Linked DNA regions of Homo sapiens: regions 2 and 3 are each linked to region 1. The links are contacts of gene promoters, found by promoter capture Hi-C in blood cells and fetal thymus (Javierre and others, 2016). All regions are on one chromosome and are shown on one strand. The core of a region is centred on a gene start or on the middle of the fragment in contact, and the rest is flanking DNA. Distances in the headings are between cores, read along the strand shown. Region 1 holds the start of DECR1 (2,4-dienoyl-CoA reductase 1). Region 2 overlaps LOC124901975 (a long non-coding RNA gene). Region 3 overlaps LINC01030 (long intergenic non-protein coding RNA 1030).

What was found. Contacts are between HindIII fragments. The CHiCAGO score rates a contact against its expected background, and 5 or more counts as called.
Region 2: a contact is called between a fragment that was not itself captured here and the fragment with the promoter of DECR1 in region 1, in 13 of 17 cell types (naive CD4 T cells, total CD8 T cells, non-activated CD4 T cells and 10 more). The highest score is 12.4, in naive CD4 T cells.
Region 3: a contact is called between a fragment that was not itself captured here and the fragment with the promoter of DECR1 in region 1, in 7 of 17 cell types (total CD4 T cells, total B cells, naive B cells and 4 more). The highest score is 10.4, in total CD4 T cells.

Annotation. Positions count from the first base shown.
Region 1 is chr8:89,999,995-90,003,673 of GRCh38, reverse strand. DECR1 (2,4-dienoyl-CoA reductase 1) reads right to left here and starts at 2,197. Exons shown (of 10, transcript NM_001359.2): 1 at 2,113-2,197. The coding sequence starts at 2,181. RefSeq lists enhancers at 1,571-1,710, 2,559-2,853 and a silencer at 2,181-2,280. The HindIII fragment of the contact is 6,361 bases long and covers 1-3,679 here.
Region 2 is chr8:90,549,521-90,553,050 of GRCh38, reverse strand. The region is part of intron 2 of LOC124901975 (a long non-coding RNA gene); the gene reads left to right. Among named protein-coding and RNA genes, the nearest start is that of LINC01030, 55 kb to the left of the region's middle. The HindIII fragment of the contact is 3,484 bases long and covers 1-3,052 here.
Region 3 is chr8:90,601,702-90,605,593 of GRCh38, reverse strand. All of the region lies in intron 1 of LINC01030 (long intergenic non-protein coding RNA 1030), which reads left to right. Among named protein-coding and RNA genes, the nearest start is that of LINC01030, 2.4 kb to the left of the region's middle. The HindIII fragment of the contact is 3,898 bases long and covers 1-3,463 here.

The DNA.
Region 1 (3,679 bases), core at 948-3,447:
GATTTCAAGGCCTACTCATTGGTTATTATTTGTGGCTTAAAATACATATATGAGACTATAGTACATTGAAGGCAGGAATGTCTTTCAACCACAAATTGCCAAAGAATGCCCAATACTTAATAGGTACTTAATTAATTAGTGTTTCCTCATAAACAACTGAATGACTGAATGTTTTCCTCAATAGAACTGAGAGCAACTTGAGAACAGTTGAGAGCAGGGCTCGTATTTTTTAAATTTTGAGTCCCAGGGCATAGCACAGGGCCAGACATAAAGCCAGTCCTCAATAAATATTTATTAAATTGAAATGAGGCCTATTAGCCAGCAGCACAATTTAACACAGCACTTCACAAACAGGTTTTATAACAAATTAAACATTTGCCTTGGTTCTTGGTAACAAAAATATTCAAATTAGGGGTTTTAATTATAACAACTTGTATTTGCCCACAAAAACATGATGTTCCCTGGAACAACCTCCCACATCACAGATGTAAAGACTTTTCTTCTCCCAGGAATTCAAACTTGAGGCTACATGTGCTAGGAAGGGGACAAACCACACTAACAGGTACCTCTCTTGCCTCCCAACCCTGAACCTCAAAACTTCCATATTTTTCTTCAGCAAAGGAATTTCAAAATTGTCAGATTACAATTAATTTTTAAATGAGTTCATTTTCTCCTTCTCAAACTGTATTGTCTAATGGTGTCAGAAGAGCTTGGATAAGGTCTGTATGACCTTATTGCTACAATCCTAATGATGTGTGTTAAAAAATGAAATCTCTGAAGACATCACAGAGCTGTTGTAGATTTCAAATGAGAAATGTCTCTGAAAAGTATCAGAAAATATGGGCTTCCTTTATAATGATCTATAACCCAGTTTTCACAGGGAGAGAAAAAAAATCAGCAAAACCCTAACCCTGAACAAATCTCACTTTTTAAAAGAAAGATACCTTACTTGAGGGAACCACCATACTAATTCTTTGTATTCCTATTTGGAACTACTGCTGCCCATATTTTTTGAAAAACAACACCATGGCTGTCTATTCTATCAAATCAAAAGAAGTTTTTTCACAGTTGACATATTAATTTTTCTACCTGGCTAAAGAAAATGTGCTTTTTAGTTTACTTATAACAATTTTGTAATTTAGATGTGGGGAGGGCTTGTCTTGGATATTATTGCTTCTTTTTGTTTTTGTTTCTCTTTCTTCTTCCTAGCTGTTTTCACTTCCTAGCTATTTCCACTATGGGTGCAATGGAGATGGTGACAGGAGTGTGGGCCAGAGAGAGGGGGAAGCCAGTGTGAGACGGACCTCTCCCAGCTATACATCTGGGAAGGGGAGTCTATAAACAGCTGGGGTTTTGTTTTTGTTTCATTTTTATGATAATTTGTTTGTATTAGTGTTTAATTCCATAACTAACACATAGATGGACTTTCCTCACAACAAAGGACGTCAAAGGTCAGTGCTCGCTCGGCCTGATCCCCTCTCACTCCTTAAGGGGTGGACGGGCGCCGTATCCTTCCCTACCTCTTTCTACCTATTTACACACAAGTTGGAAACTTGCAGAACTGTGAAAACTTCGAAAATCACGTCTCTTCCCTATTCCCCTACACACATCAGGGCTTCATCTGACAGTGGAATACGACCCGGGCCCCGGTGCTCACTCCCGGCGTTGCCCTTCGCTCCGGGACCTGGTGGTCCTCTCTCTCTGCGCCCCAAAACGCCCTGTCCTAGCTCCCTGAGCCCCAGGGACGCCGGGTCCTCTCTTTGTGCCCCAAGACTTCCTGCCCTTTCTCTTGCGCCCCGAGACGTCCTGTCCTCTCTCTCGCTCCCCGGGTTGCTCTGTGCTCTCTTAGCGCTCCAGAACGCCCTGTCCTCTCTCTTTGAGCCCCGGGACACCCTGTCCTCGCTCCCCGAGGCCCCGGGACGCCCTGTCCTCTCTCTCTCTGCGCCTCGGGATGCCCTGTCCTCGCTCCCCGAACCCCCGGGACGCCCTGTCCTCTCTCTTTGCGCCCCAGGATGCCTTGTCCTCGCTCCCCGAGCCCCCGTGACGCCCTGTCCTCTCTCTTTGCGCGTCGAGACGCCCTGTCCTCGCTCCCCGCGCCCCCGGCCGCCTTACCCTCCGAGGAGCGAGGCCACAGGGCAGCCGGGACCCCAGAGTAAAGAAAACCCTGGCCGGTAGCTTCATGTTGAGTCTCCAGAACTCGGGCCGGAAGGCGGCGCAGGCGGTTGGGCGCAGGGGGCGGGACAAAAAGAACAAAGTTCTCGGGGCTGGAAACGCTGCCTAGGCCGCCGGGGGATGGGACGGGGACTGGGACCCAGGCGGCGTGGACGCCCAGCGGCCCTGACCTTCAGAGTCCGGCCGAGGGCGCCGCCTAGCTGGGCCTAGCTGATGCTCTTTCCTGCTCTCTGGGCCAGGAGTGCTTTGTATGGCAGAGAATGGAGGTTCTTTGCGTCCTTGAGCGGGTGTACGAAACCCCGCGCCCTGCAAGGGTTTGCAGATTGCAGCTGCGCACCCCATACACTGCCTATCAAGGGCGAAACTCTTTTTCAGTCGTATGTGTTTATCCCTTAAGTGCGTGTTTAAGTGCAGAGTGCGCGTGGCGCCAAGTCACATATTATCAGAATAATAATATGTTGGATGTAAAACACGGCCTCACTTTCCCTAAGACCAAGAGGCTGAAAAACACTAAGGGCAGCTTCCGGCGTTTTGACTTTTCGCAGGACACACCGCCCCCTGTCGCCGGATGCAGCGTGACTGCGACCGCCCAGCCTTGGCTTTTTTCTCGAAGTTAAACACACGTTAAAGGCAAACACAGATTCAGTATATCATTCTCCATCTTAGTGTAATATACCTGTTGACACAAGGCATTAGCTCAGATCACATTTCTTTCCTCATTCGTAAAATGAGAATATTCATAGCTAATTCAGAATTTTAGATAAAAGAAGATGGGTGTGAGGCCCCAGGCTGAGGCTGATGGTAGATGATATTGAGTGTTTACTATTTGCCTGGCATGTTCCAAATGCTGATAAAGAAACATTTATATCTTCAGAGGAATGTACACTTACATGTAGACATATAGCTTATAAGGTATATAAACTCTGAAAAACTTTGTAATTTTGAGTTGGTCTGGTGATAATTTCCAGGCCTTCTGCCTGTAACTGGTTACAGAAATAAAAACTTTCTTCATCCCCAGTTCATCGACATCTCATTATTGGCAGCAAGAAATAGCAGCCTGACCCTCAGTTTGGTCCAGGAACAAAACTACCACAGATTGGGTGGCTTAAATGGAAATTTGTTTTCTCACAATTCTGGAGGCCACAAGTCAGCAGAGTTGGTTTCTTGTGGAGCCACTGTGGGACCATCTTCTCCCTGTGTCTTTACATGATCCTCCTGTGTACCTTTCCATATCTAAATTGCCTCTTCTTATGAGGACACCAGTCGTGTTGGATTAAGGCCCACCCTCAATGACCTAATTTAACTGGAATTACCTCCCTAAAGACTCTATCTCCAAATATAGCCACATTCTGACATACTGGGGGTTAAGAGTTCAATGTATATATTTGGCTGGGAGAAGAGGGAAGTACACAATTCAGCCCAGAACACTTGCCCTCTTAAATAACTTTTAGACCAGCTTAGGAGGCATTTTCTGTCCTCCCAAAAAAACCTTGAGAATATATCAATA
Region 2 (3,530 bases), core at 61-2,560, 550 kb before region 1:
CCCTCATGATCCAAACCTCCCATTAGGCTTCTCTCCCAACACTGTTGCATTGGGGATTAAATTCCAACACCTGCTTTCTGGGGGACACATTCAGACCATAGCACATACTGATAAACAACCACATGGAAAATGTGGCCTGAAGAGAGTGAACAAAGGGAAAATTATGGGGGAAAGGAAAACATCTCTTTTTTTCAACAGAATGACTATGGAAACAAACAGAAGCATGCCTATTGTATTTTCAAAACTTTCCTAACATTATTATCTAATATAATGAAACCAGATAAAGGCTAACATTTATCCAGACAGAACTTCTGAGTTCATAAAATTTAACTAGCCAAATGACGATTTTTAGTGATCATGCATTTTTAGTTCCCTCATTTTACTTTAAGGAAACCGAGACTCAGAAAAGTTAAATGACATATCCAAAGCCTCACTGCACTTATATGGCAGTGTCAAGATCAGACTGATATTTCCTCCAGGCAAGGGTTATGTTTTTACTTAGTTGTATCATCAGCCCATAGCAATGTTTGGCACATAACAAGCTCTTGCCAATCCGTTAAATGAATACATGAATGAAGACTCTAAGATCTCTTGCCAATGCTCTTTGTACAAACTCAAAATTCCTTTAAATCAGGTCACATTGTTCTCAGTGTCATACTGGTTGGAGGTACCCAAGTTAGCTGTTTAGTCTTGAGGACTCAAAATTAAAAAATGTTTTGAATTAAATTAATTCTTTCTTTCTAATTGGCAGCCTTTCTTGGGCATTGGTTTTGTTTTGTTTTATTTTTGCAGTACTGATTGTCTGGGCATTAAGCCTACTTGGAATTAACTTGCATTTGTTTTCTCTTGCACAATTTCAATTTAATATAAATGTGGTCAGTTTATAAATTGCTGTAGTTATTACTTTATTTACTAGAATAAAAATGTCCTAATCTAGCACAGACCTTGTTAACCATTACGGGGTTAAGTCAGACCTCTGAGTTTTCCTTCTGCCTCTTACTAAATGATCCTAATACTTTGGACAAACAGTCGGTCAAACAAACACAAACACACCCACTACAACTAGAAGTGAATTTAGGGATCAGCTCTTGTAGCCTCATTTCGATACATAAGTTGAACAACAATCTACTGTGGTTTGCCTGGCAATATCGTCCCAGTGTAATTATTAATAGGGCCCCCCTTCATTGCTAAGTGTCCCCATTTGGACAATTAATTATGTGATCACCCACCATATGAGGAATTTCAAGTCTGGAGAGTTGATGTGATCTAACCCTTAGACATGCAGTAGGTTAGTGACAGAACTGGACAAATTTTTAAAAATTGCTTTTCTTTACCACTTTACATATTAATCTGCTTTTCTAACAGTTCAGAAAGGGATGGTTTTTAGTTTCCAGTTTTGATTATAAATATCACTGCAATAATTTCACAAAAATATAGCATGTCTACATTTCCCACTTAGAATCCTAGAGGATTTCACAAGATTAGTTTCAGTCTAATGGCATTGTATTTAAAGTTTCTGATTTTAAAATTCAACTTACATAAAACAATCTCATGCCAGCAGTAGGGTGGTGGAGAAGCATATAGATTCGGCAGCCAGATGCCTGTGTCTACATCCCAACTTCATCAATAACCAGCTCTATGGCTCTCATTATTTTGTGTTTCAGTTTCCTCATTTGTAAAACAAGAATGATGATGGTAACAATAGTATCTAATTCCTAGAGTCTTTTGAGAACAAAATAATTATATGTGAGTTGTATGTAAAGGACATACTGTCACCTGGCACATAGCAAGCACCATGCATGTCTTAGCTTTGAACACTGTTTTTATTATCTCATCTGCCATGAGCCACTCTTCCCTGATGTGCACTTCATACTCCTGCAGTGATAAACCTTGGCCAGATCATGTAGCTTTATGAACCCTGCATGCTCCCAAAAGTGAGTATTACAAAGGCAGAGGCTTTGTGATACTGTATCCCAAGTAACCAATTTCCATACTGGTTACTTGTATCCCAAGTATGGAAAAGACAACAAGGTAGGCTCTTAATACATACTTCTTAAATAAAAAGGAATAAAAGGATGATTAAGTTAGTTGACCTATATAGAAGACAGCTACTCCTGTTCCACATTTCTCTTGTAACTTCACCTCACCTCCTTTAAGAAAAATAAATCCCACAAAACCCTGGATTTTGCAAAGAATCTTGCAAAGAGTCTCTGACTAAGGAATGGAAGAAGACAAACTGAATGAAGAGGCAGTTAGGGATGTGGACACTAGGGATAGAATCCGATAGGGAATTTTCCTGCTCTTTTGGTGGTCCATTGTACACATATCTTTAGAATTTTAAAATCTCATTTTTCTACACTGCCTGTAATTCTAAAGGTTGGACAGTAATTTACATTAATAAGTATCTTCTTTGAAAGACCAGAAAACCTATAGGGAGGGTAAAAGTATTATTAGTCAAAAACATTCATACATTTGAGTTCCATCTGATTACACTTTTCCTGACACCAGCTAATTCACTTGCACTGAATTTATTGGAGGTTTTTACTGCTAAAGTGGAGAAGATGGAAGGAGGAATAAAAAATTTGGAGCATGGTATACGTCATGGATCAGGGATCAAGCCTGGAAGTGATTCTCAGACAGGCTTAGAACCTGGAGAGAGAGGAAGTAAGAGATAAGAAAGAGGTATAAAAGGAGAGAGGGATATTAAAATAATATGCTTTCTTGGTTCCAGGATTTATTTTTCTAGAGCCATCGTTAAACATAAGAAATAGAAGGAAAGTTAATTTTTCTGACTTATTTTCTCTCATAACTATGTGGACACTGCTTCCGTCATAGAGTTTATAATAAATAATAAGAATAGCAGAAAAAATTACATATATATATGTATATATATATATGCAGACATACAGGCAAGAATGAGTCATTTATTTAAAAACACAGCTGGACATAATGAGGGAGAAATTATTGTTAACTGATCTATTGTAATCAAAGGCGATAGAGGTAAGGCAAGTTCAAAATAACCAATAAGCCGAATATTTCTAGACCTTAAGCTTCTTGGATATGGAAACTAAGTCTTAGTTATTACTGGGTTACCAGCATCTGGCCCAGGGCCTAGCACAGGGCCTCTGTAGAATGAATGAGTGGATGAATTTTGGCTTCACAATCAAGGCAGTGACATGTTTATTCTCCCTTTCTCATTTTTCTCCTCTCTTCCCCCTTTCACCTTTCTCTTGGCTTGCATCTGGTCCCTTCTTGACTTACTTCTATTTTCTGAGGTAAGAATTCTTCGAAATTTTTTACTCCAGCTTATGTTAAGGCCACAGACTATGTAGAATCCCAAACAAACAAACAAACAAAAAAGAGGGGAACAACCACCGAGCCCAACAAACGGCCCACATAGAAGCAAGACCCACTACAGTGCTCTGCCCTTAAAGACAACGTCCTCCTTTTCAGCTTTGCCTTTTGGTTCAGATTTTTGAGAAACTCTTATTGGCTGCTGGACAGTCAGTGGTTTTGCTCTCTTGGATTAG
Region 3 (3,892 bases), core at 265-2,764, 600 kb before region 1:
GAAAACCGCAGAGGAAGGGCTTTTCAGTTAAGATAGGAGTGAGTGAAGCCTACTTAAATACTGAGAGAGATAAACCTTCTATAATTTATATTAGTGTGTTGTAACTCATTGATTAGAGATACCTTTAGCCTATATCACAAGATACTGGTATTATACAAGTAAATGCAGCATTGGTCTGGGAGTTAAGAAACATAATGCATTTTAATTCTCACTCTTGCCAGTTAGCTACATAATTTTGTGCAAGTAAATGATTTCCACATGGGCCGGGGGCGGTGGCTCACGCCTGTAATCCCAGCATTTTGGGAGGCCGAGGTGGGTGGATCACGAGATCAGGAAACCGAGACCATCCTGGCTAACATGGTGAAACTCCATCTCTACTAAAAATACAAAAAATTAGCTGGGCGTGGTGGCGGGTGCCTGTAGTCCCAGCTACTTGGAAGGCTGAGGCAGGAGAATGGCGTGAACCCGGGAGACGGAGCTTGCAGTAAGCCGAGACTGTGCCACTGCACTCCAGCCTGGGCGACAGAGCGAGACTCCATCTCAAAAAAAAAAAAAAAAAAAAAAAAAAAAAAAAAAAAAAAAATTCCACATGTATACAGTGTGGAGGCTGAGATCCTTTACCTAAGGTCCATTTCAGTCTAAATTTGTTTTAGTTTTCAACCACCTTTTTAGCAGAATCATGGCTCTCTAGAACAGGTAACTGATTTGTCCCCGGGGTTAAATATAATTCCAACTCTAATCAATCTTAGGATGCTTTAACATTTTTTCTTTAATTTCCTAAAAAAAAAATCAAAAGATTCATGTGATGAAACACATCTGATACCCTCCTTGGAGAACTGCAGGGCTTAGAGAAAACTCATTCTGTGTTCTCTACCGTCAGCATTTTTATTCCAGTGAAATTTATTTTAAAATTAGTTTAATTTTAGAAAAACATGTTTTAAACCTGAAAGTAATGAAGATTATCTAGTTCAGATTTTTCATGTTGAAAAAAGGGTATTTCCTAGGGTGAGAGAAAGTTAGTGGCAAAGCATTTCAGTATTTCCTTGTCCCATTCTGTGCTTTCCATGCTAGTCAACTCAATGGCAACAGGAGGCCAGCAGAAGCAGTGACAGAACAGCATCCAGCCTGTGTTGCCTTGGTGATACGGGAGGCTCCAGAGCACCTTTAGAACTTCCTAATTTATTGAAAGTTTTACTCCACAACTACTTAAACTACATACAATTTGATTAAAGCTGAATTCTTTAAAAGTATTAAGCTGGGCTGGGCACAGTGGCTCACGCCTGTAATGCCAGCACTTTGGGAGGCCGAGGCGGGCAGATCTCGAGGTCAGGAGATCAAGATTATTCTGGCTAACACGGTGAAACTCCATCTCTACTATAAATACAAAAAATAAGTCGGGTGTGGTGTCACGCGCCTGTAGTCCCAGCTACTCGGGAGGCTGAGGCAGGAGAATCACTTGAACCCAGGAGGCGGAGGTTGCAGTGAACCAAGATCGCGCCACTGCACTCCAGCCTGGGTGATAGAGCGAGACTCCGTCTCAAACAACAACAACAACAAAAATATTAAGTTTTGGAAAATTGCATATCTAATAATAACAAATAGTTTGAGACTCATGGTATATATATATGGGGTGTGTGTGTGTGCGCGTGTGCCACAATTCCTTAGTTTTAAATCTTTGCCATTGAAATAAAAATGAATTTTAGGGTATTTAGTTAGTGATACACAGAAAAGTTTGTTACATGTCAAAGTAGATACACTTTCTACTCAGCAAAAAAAGCAAAATCTTGAAAAATACAGAGACATGTATAAGAAGTAATTGAAAAGAAAGGAAAATTATTCCTAAGGAATAGTTGCAAGCCTTATCATATCTCCTGGCTGTATATATAGGACATTAGGTCAGACATAATTTTTGCTCTAGCATTAGTTTCAAGTTTAAGAAATGATAAAGTTCTGGAGATGCATGTATTCATAATATGCTTTCAGGGTTAAAATGTGTGCTAAACACTTAGGAGCAGATGTTATCAATGGAATTCTTCGAATTTAGCTTACAAACCTTTTGTACTTATTAATTTGATAGACACAATTAGAAACAAAGGATTTATTCAAACAGATCAAAAGAAACAATTGTAATACTATGGAAAGATTGAAGTGTATATAGGAACTACTTTCACTAGTCTTTTAACCTAAGGTTCTGAATTACAGTGCTCAATGAGTTAACTCTGATGTCAGAGAAGTGAAACTTGATTTGGCTTCGGATCACAATTTTTGTGCTACATTCCCCCCCACCACCAAAAGTTATGAAGTGATGATAACATACGCAGACGACCTAAGCTATCCATTATAGACACTTGAGAAACGTGAATTTCTTTCCTCACTGCTTTGCTTTCTTTAAGTGACAGAATTAATGACCATTTCTGCAGGACACACTGTATGGAGGAACATCCAGTGACAAAAGAGGCTCAAATATTTTCACTAAGGTGTAAGAGACCAAATAATTTACAATTACGTGGCCAGGCACGGTGGCTTACGCCTGTAATCCCAGCACTTTGGGAGCCAAGGCGGGTGGATCACCTGTCAGGAGTTTGAGACCGGCCTGGCCAACATGGTGAGACCCGGTCTCTACTAAAAATACAAAAATTATCTGGATGCAGTGGCGCGCATCTGTGGTCCCAACTACTTGGGAGGCTGAGGCTGGAGAATTGCTTGAACCCGGGAGGCAGAGGTTGCAGTGAGCCGAGATCGCGCCACTGTACTCCAGCCTCGGTGACAGAGCAAGACTCCGTCTCGAAACAAACAACAACAAAACAATTACAATTAGTCTTTTTTGAGTGTCAGTTACTCTTGACTAATAAGTTAAGAATTAGCTTGTTTAGGTGCAGCTGTTACCATTTGGTAACACTTGAGTACATTGAATTTCTTGGCTTCATACTTCTGACAAATGAGCTGATTTAATTCGAGGTCTTTTAACCTCTGGATTGATAAAGCATTTTTTTTTTATTTTACTTTAAGTTCTGGAATACATATGCAGAACATGCAGGTTTGTTACATAGGTATACATGTGCCATGGTGGTTTGCTGCACATATCAACCCTTGATAAAGCATTTTTAAATTTTGTAATCAAATTAGAACTACCTTTCTTATTATGATTTACTGTATTTCATATCACCCCTTTAGAATAAAAAAGAAAAAAGATGCCCTATTGCTTTTCTTACAGGGCTTATTATATATTTGTTTTGTATTTAAATGTCTAACTTTTAGTTGGGAATGAGTAGCCAGGACTGTGCCTTTATTGTGAGATGAGAGAGGCCAGTTGAGTCACATCACGTATTGATTTCTTTCAACTTATCCTATCAATGTAGTTTCCTTACAATAAATATTCCAAAGCATTGTTCTTGTTTTTTAATTAACAAAATGATGCAAGGATCATCTGCAATAAAATTTTGTGAAAATGGCCAGGAAAGCTTTAAAATTATAAAGAAGGACTTCCTGTACCAAAATTTAATATGTAAAGTCATGGAAATCAGAAGAAATAGACTAATGGAACCGAAGAGAAAGTCTAGAATGAGACCTAGGTGTACATAGAATATATTATATTTAAAAGGTAATATCAATAAATAGCATTTAGAAAACAATCTTTTGAAAAGTTTAAAGAAAAATCAGAGGTTTAAAACGGGAAAAATTAAATATAACATGCTACTACCAGAATGAAGGGGCATGGATAAATTTAAAATTTTTAACTTGAAAATCCAAGCCTTAATTCCACCTCCATAAAATACTTAATTTATTCTCATCTGTTATTCTATACATACTGTCTAATGCAGAAACACGTGTTTATTACATTTTATATTCCATTTTATTTAGTATTATGCTCTTTCTTAGGTCAGTGTAGTAT